Regions from separate parts of the Homo sapiens genome. Here region 2 is linked to region 1. The links are contacts of gene promoters, found by promoter capture Hi-C in blood cells and fetal thymus (Javierre and others, 2016). All regions are on one chromosome and are shown on one strand. Each heading gives the region's core, a stretch centred on a gene start or on the middle of the fragment in contact. The rest is flanking DNA. Distances are from core to core; before and after follow the strand shown. Region 1 holds the start of SUCLG1 (succinate-CoA ligase GDP/ADP-forming subunit alpha). Region 2 overlaps KCMF1 (potassium channel modulatory factor 1).

The links. Contacts are between HindIII fragments. The CHiCAGO score rates a contact against its expected background, and 5 or more counts as called.
Region 2: a contact is called between a fragment that was not itself captured here and the fragment with the promoter of SUCLG1 in region 1, in 4 of 17 cell types (naive CD8 T cells, total CD4 T cells, total B cells and 1 more). The highest score is 8.4, in naive CD8 T cells.

What each region holds. Positions count from the first base shown.
Region 1 is chr2:84,458,010-84,460,723 of GRCh38, forward strand. It overlaps SUCLG1 (succinate-CoA ligase GDP/ADP-forming subunit alpha), which reads right to left and starts at 1,271. Exons shown (of 9, transcript NM_003849.4): 1 at 1,164-1,271. The coding sequence starts at 1,260. It also overlaps a transcript of DNAH6 not described here. RefSeq lists an enhancer at 1,308-1,447 and a silencer at 1,628-1,817. The HindIII fragment of the contact is 6,917 bases long and covers 604-2,714 here.
Region 2 is chr2:84,983,846-84,986,556 of GRCh38, forward strand. All of the region lies in intron 1 of KCMF1 (potassium channel modulatory factor 1), which reads left to right. Among named protein-coding and RNA genes, the nearest start is that of KCMF1, 14 kb to the left of the region's middle. The HindIII fragment of the contact is 469 bases long and covers 1,117-1,585 here.

The sequences.
Region 1 (2,714 bases), core at 21-2,520:
AAGTCTCATAAAATATTCAGTACAAGCAGAATTAAGAGCAAAGCGGAAAAAGAAAACTAACTTTGAGTGTTTGTTACATACGAGATGCTTTATATAAATTGCTCCACTTATTCTGCAGTGAACCCAGATCATCCTGTACATCATCATTGCTAAAATGCACATTTTTTTTCACTTTTTAAAAAACCAGGATACATGTGACAACCACTGGTGTGTCACAGTTTTAATAAGCAATCGTTCTTCATTGTTAGTGGTAAACAAAATAATGGTCCACCTTACAAGTGATGGTGCTTCAGGCCCCTTAAAATGTGTTAATATTTTCATGTGATTGGAAACACTGAAAAACAGATTAAGTGTCCAGGGTTATTACACAGACTGAAAAGGGACTAGCCAGACTTCAAACCCTGATGTGGCTGATTCCAAAGTTTCTTTCTACTATAACCTACCTGACAAGCACAGAGACTTTGAATATGGCAAGAATTTTCCATAGTCAGCGTGTCTCAAAGACTAGCAACCTTGGGTACTAAGTTTTCGGGAACGGATGTGTCCACAAATCGCCTGGTGGAGACACTGCAAATAAGCTGGTTTAGGTCCCAGCCAACCATAAGCTTCTAGTAGTCTATGCGGCTATGCCGACCCCACTCCGTGTGCAGAAACCATCTTTCCCTGACATACAATCCTGCAGAGGGGGAATTCGAAGTGCAGGACCTTTCCGTACTAGGGACAGCCTCATCCCCCAACTTCCTACTGAGACACTCTTCCTCTACCTCTCAACCCAGACCCTTACCTTCCCCACCAAGTTCACCTTGGACCTCTTCATCCCCAACTCCAAATAAGGCCAGTCTAGACGCCACCCCCATCCTGTCATTTGTCACCGCGGGGCCGAGAGCAAGCTCCCAAATTTGCAGGGCTCCCGGACCCGAATCCTGGCTCAGCCACCCAATATCTCCATCTGCCAGCGGCCTAAGTCATGCCCCCCGCCCCACGTATCCAGCAAAGCTCCTTCCACCGTAGGGGTCCCCGACTCGAAGCCGGAATCCCAAGCGGCTCCCAGGCCCCCGCCGAGGTCCAGCCCTGAGGGCCCAGCCGCGGCCTGGGCCAGGAGGTTGGGTCCGGCGGGGCCAATAACCCGCGGGCGCCAGGAAGACAGTACTGGCTGGACTCACGGAGGAAGCTGCGCGACAGGAGACGGGCGGCGGCGAGGCCGCTGCTGCCGGAGACCATGGTAGCGATGTCAGCGGCAGCGGCAAGGGTTGCGGTCATACGCCAATGACACTCCCAGGCCCCCGGGGACCTCCCAGGGGCAGAGGCCGGAGGAGGCAGAGGGTGGCCACAGCAGTCGCCTGAACAAATTTCCCTTTACAGAGGATTCTTCACGAAACAGCGGGAATGGCAGGTGAAGACAAAGAGGCATCCTATCGGAGAGGCAGATAATAACTCGGCTCCTTCCTAGAAATGTGGGTTTGATTAACATTAATTATAACAGCAGCTGAGGGAAAACCCCACGCGAGACTGGCCAGCGCGTGGCATTGTGGGCAATGTAGTCTGACGGCCGCGACTGGTTCGTAGCTTTTGAGTGAGGCGGCGGGAAGGGAGCGAGGGAAGAGCGGCAGTGAGACCGGGGAGACAAGGGACTTGAAGACTAGGAGGGAAGAAACAGCGAGGTGAGGTGCGAAGAGCAGTGCCAGAACTTTGTATCCCAGGCCCATCTCCTTCCCCCTTCGTTTTCCTCGTTTGCTATTAGAGAGAATAATATTTCTCACCGCGTACCTGTGCCTGGACCCGGAAGGGTTGCCGCTGGGGACGGGAATTCGAACTGGCACTGGTGGCCTGTGAAGGGAAAGATGTGATGAGAAAGACCAAAACCTATCTTACTGACAGTTAACTTCTTGGAATGTGAATTTTTTTAGTTAAATAATCATGCAGTCTTTGACTAGCACTAAGTGCATGAGTGTTTATTCCCTGAGGATCCTAAGGGCTGAAATTCGAGGTCAAATGTGACTTTGCTCCCTGATTGGACAAACAGTTCCCTCTTCTGTAACAGCTTTAGAAGGAACCTCAGAGAGTCCCAGAGTCAAAAGGTAAACAAGAGATGAAGTAATCTGCGTCTCTGCCGAAAATCGTGCTCCTGAGATTCCTCATCAGAATTGTCAATAAAATTGCAATCCTAATTTACTTAGGTAGTCATTATAATTGGCACTGAGCTGTGGGATGGATGAGTGGGATTACCCCAGGAGATTGCCCAATACTTCCTTTATGATCCAAATATTGTCATTAACAGGTTGGACTTCACTGCAAATAAACTCCTCCCTCATGGATCATGTTCTTGTGATAACTAAATTCCTCAGAGTTAAATAGTATCAGTGGTTTCCAGATATATCCATTATAACAAAATGGACATTTTTATGGCAAATAAATAGAAAATCCCTTGCTATTTTAAATAGCAAAATTATTCCTGAGCTGTCGCTTGATAAGTTATATGTTTAGTTTCATTTAATTGATAAAATGCATGATGACAAAAAATATAATTTCAGTACACTTTTAATGAAAATTTGTATTTCCATGAAGACGGGGATTTTTGTTTGTTTTGTATCCTGGAGTATCCCCAGCACCTAGAACAATGCCTTACACAAATAACTCATCGTTGAATTGAATTGATATATATAGGAGAAATAGTAGTATATAGATTATTTTTTGGATCCACAGGCAATGTTTGA
Region 2 (2,711 bases), core at 101-2,600, 530 kb after region 1:
ATGTTGCCCAGGCAGGTCCTGAGCTCCTGACCTCAAGCAATCCTACCTTGGTCTCCTACAGTGCTGGGATTACAGGAGTGAGTCCCTATTCCCAGCCAAAGTCTTAAATCTTAAATTTTACATTCATCATATTTTAATTCAAATGCTAAATTTTCATTTAAAAAATGCCTCAGTTGAAAAACATATTCACATTTATGCGTTGAGGGTCTGCTAGGCTTTTGCTGACCACCCTGTCTAAAGTAGCTCATACTCTGGCTGGCCATGGTGGCTCATGCTTGTAATCCCAGCACTTTGGGAGGCTGAGGAAGGAGGATTGTTTGAGACAAAGCTGGGCAACATGGTAAGACCCCATCTTCACAAAATAAGTAAATAAATAATAGAAGTTTCTTTGAAAAAATAAGTAAATAAAGTAGCCCACACTCTATATATATTTTTTGTAGGGATGGGGTCTTGCTGTGTTGCCAAGGCTGGTCTCAAACTCCTGAGCTCAAGCAATTTTCCCGCCTCAGCCTCCCAAAGTGCTACGATTACAGATGTGAGCCATCACACTTGGCTGTGGATTTCTGCTTCAGTTTCTGTCCTAAGAACTTAGATTTTTCATTTCTTTTTCACCTTAAAATTATTTTTTAACATATACTGGTTTCATGACCTTTTATTTATTTTTTTCTTTTATATTTAAAGAAGCTTAGCAGAGGCTGGGTACGGTGGCTCACACCTGTAATCCCAGCACTTTGGGAGGCTGAGGTGGGTGGCTCATCTGAGGTGAGGAGTTCGAGACCAGCCTGACCAACATGAAGAAACCCCGTCACTACTAAAAATACAAAATAACCTGGGTGTGGTGGCGCATGCCCATAATCCTAGCTACTCGGGAGGCTGAGGCAGGAGAATTGCTTGAACCCGGGAGGCAGAGGTTGCGGTGAGCCAAGATTGCGCCATTGCACTCCAGTCCAGCCTGGGCAGCAAGTAAAACTCTGTCTCAAAAAGAAAGAAAGAAAGAAAGAAACTTCTATTATTTATTTATTTTGTGAAGTTGGGGCCTCACTATGTTGCCCAGGATGGCCTCGAACTCTTGGGCTCAATCCCCTTGCCTCAGCCTCCCAAAGTGTTGGGATTACAAGCTTGAGCCACCATGGCCGGCCAGAGTATGGGCTACTTTAGATAGGGTGGTCAGGAAAAGCCTATCTGAAGATGGACATTTAAGGAAAAGCCATAGTTAAATGAGAGAGATTTAAAGGAAAAAAAAATACGACTGAGGATACAGCAAGTGTAGAGGTCCTGAAATTGGAATGTTCTTGGAACAGCACAGAGGCCATGTGGCTGGAGGGCAATGATTGGGGTGGAAAGGGGTAGGAAGTGAAGTTGGCGTAGTTCGAGCCAGATCTTGGACACCCTCGCATTGTAGGCTGTGTTGAGGACTGTTGAACTGTGAATGCTTTGAGAAACACATTTCGGAAGCCCTGCTTCTATAGAAAGGTCTTTTTGACTAACTAAATGGCAGGGGGTGGAAAGTACATACTCAGTTTGTGTCCCAAACATCTCTAAGAACATTTCTTTACAAACTTTCCCTACATTTACCGTTCTTTTAAGCTTTGTCTTTCTTGACCCCTGTTACTCTATTACTCTATTTAACTGATGTTTCCTGAAGGGTGTGGGGTTTGGTGGAAGGTGAATCTTCCTAGTTTGAATGTAAAACCCTTGGGCCTGGCCTGGCGCGGTGGCTCACGCCTCTAATCTTAGCACTTTGGGAAGCCCAGGCAGGCGGCTCACGAGGTCAGGAGTTTGAGACCAGCCTGGCCAACATGGTGAAACCCCGTCTCTACTAAAAATACAAAAATTAGCTGGGTGTGGCAGTAAGTGCCTGTAATCCCAGCTACTGGGGAGACTGAGGCAGGAGAATAGCTTGAAACCAGAAGGCGGAGGTTGCAGTGAGCCGAGATTGTGTCACTGCACTCCAGCCTGGGTGACAGAGCCAGACTCCATCTCAAAAAAAAAAAACCCTTGGGCCTAGAAACTAGGTCATCTACATACATTAGCAGCTCTCAAACTTTTAAAAAAATATAACACAGAAATATATTTTATATTCTGATGCAGTAGTCACATACATATGTAATGAAGCAAGAGTAATGCAAAATAGTACTTATCACTACTTTGAAACATATACTTTGTTTTCTATTCTGCTTCATTAAAAACCAAAATACTAGTTGTGACCTTCTAGATTGATTTCACATTCTATTCATGGATTGTCACCTCCTATTGAAAAACACTGGCCTTGGATGTCTAACCTAAAACTTTGGGTCCTTATGTGCAAGGTATTATGATAAGTACTATGAGGCATTTAGAAAACTCTTAGAATTTTTCCTCCTAAAGTATGTGGTATGACTGAAGCAATAAGGTCTAAGTATTTAAAATAAAATAACCCTTGTATGACTGGGGCAATTAAAAGTGTCAGCTCATTTACTACAAGTTCTGTAGTGTTGGCAAGTGGAATGAGGTGTTATTTGGGTGTCAGAGAAGAGATTTCCTTAGGGTGGCATTTAAACTCAAGACTTGAAGAAGTATCGTATTTTTATAGGATGAGTTGGGGGAAGGGGATCCGCCAAGTGAGAGAATGTAGGAGGTAAAGTGCAGAACTAAGAAAACATGCAGTGTGTTGGAGAGAGGTAGGTGGGACAACAGTGAGGAGACCAGAGTTTCTGGAACAGAAGACTCCC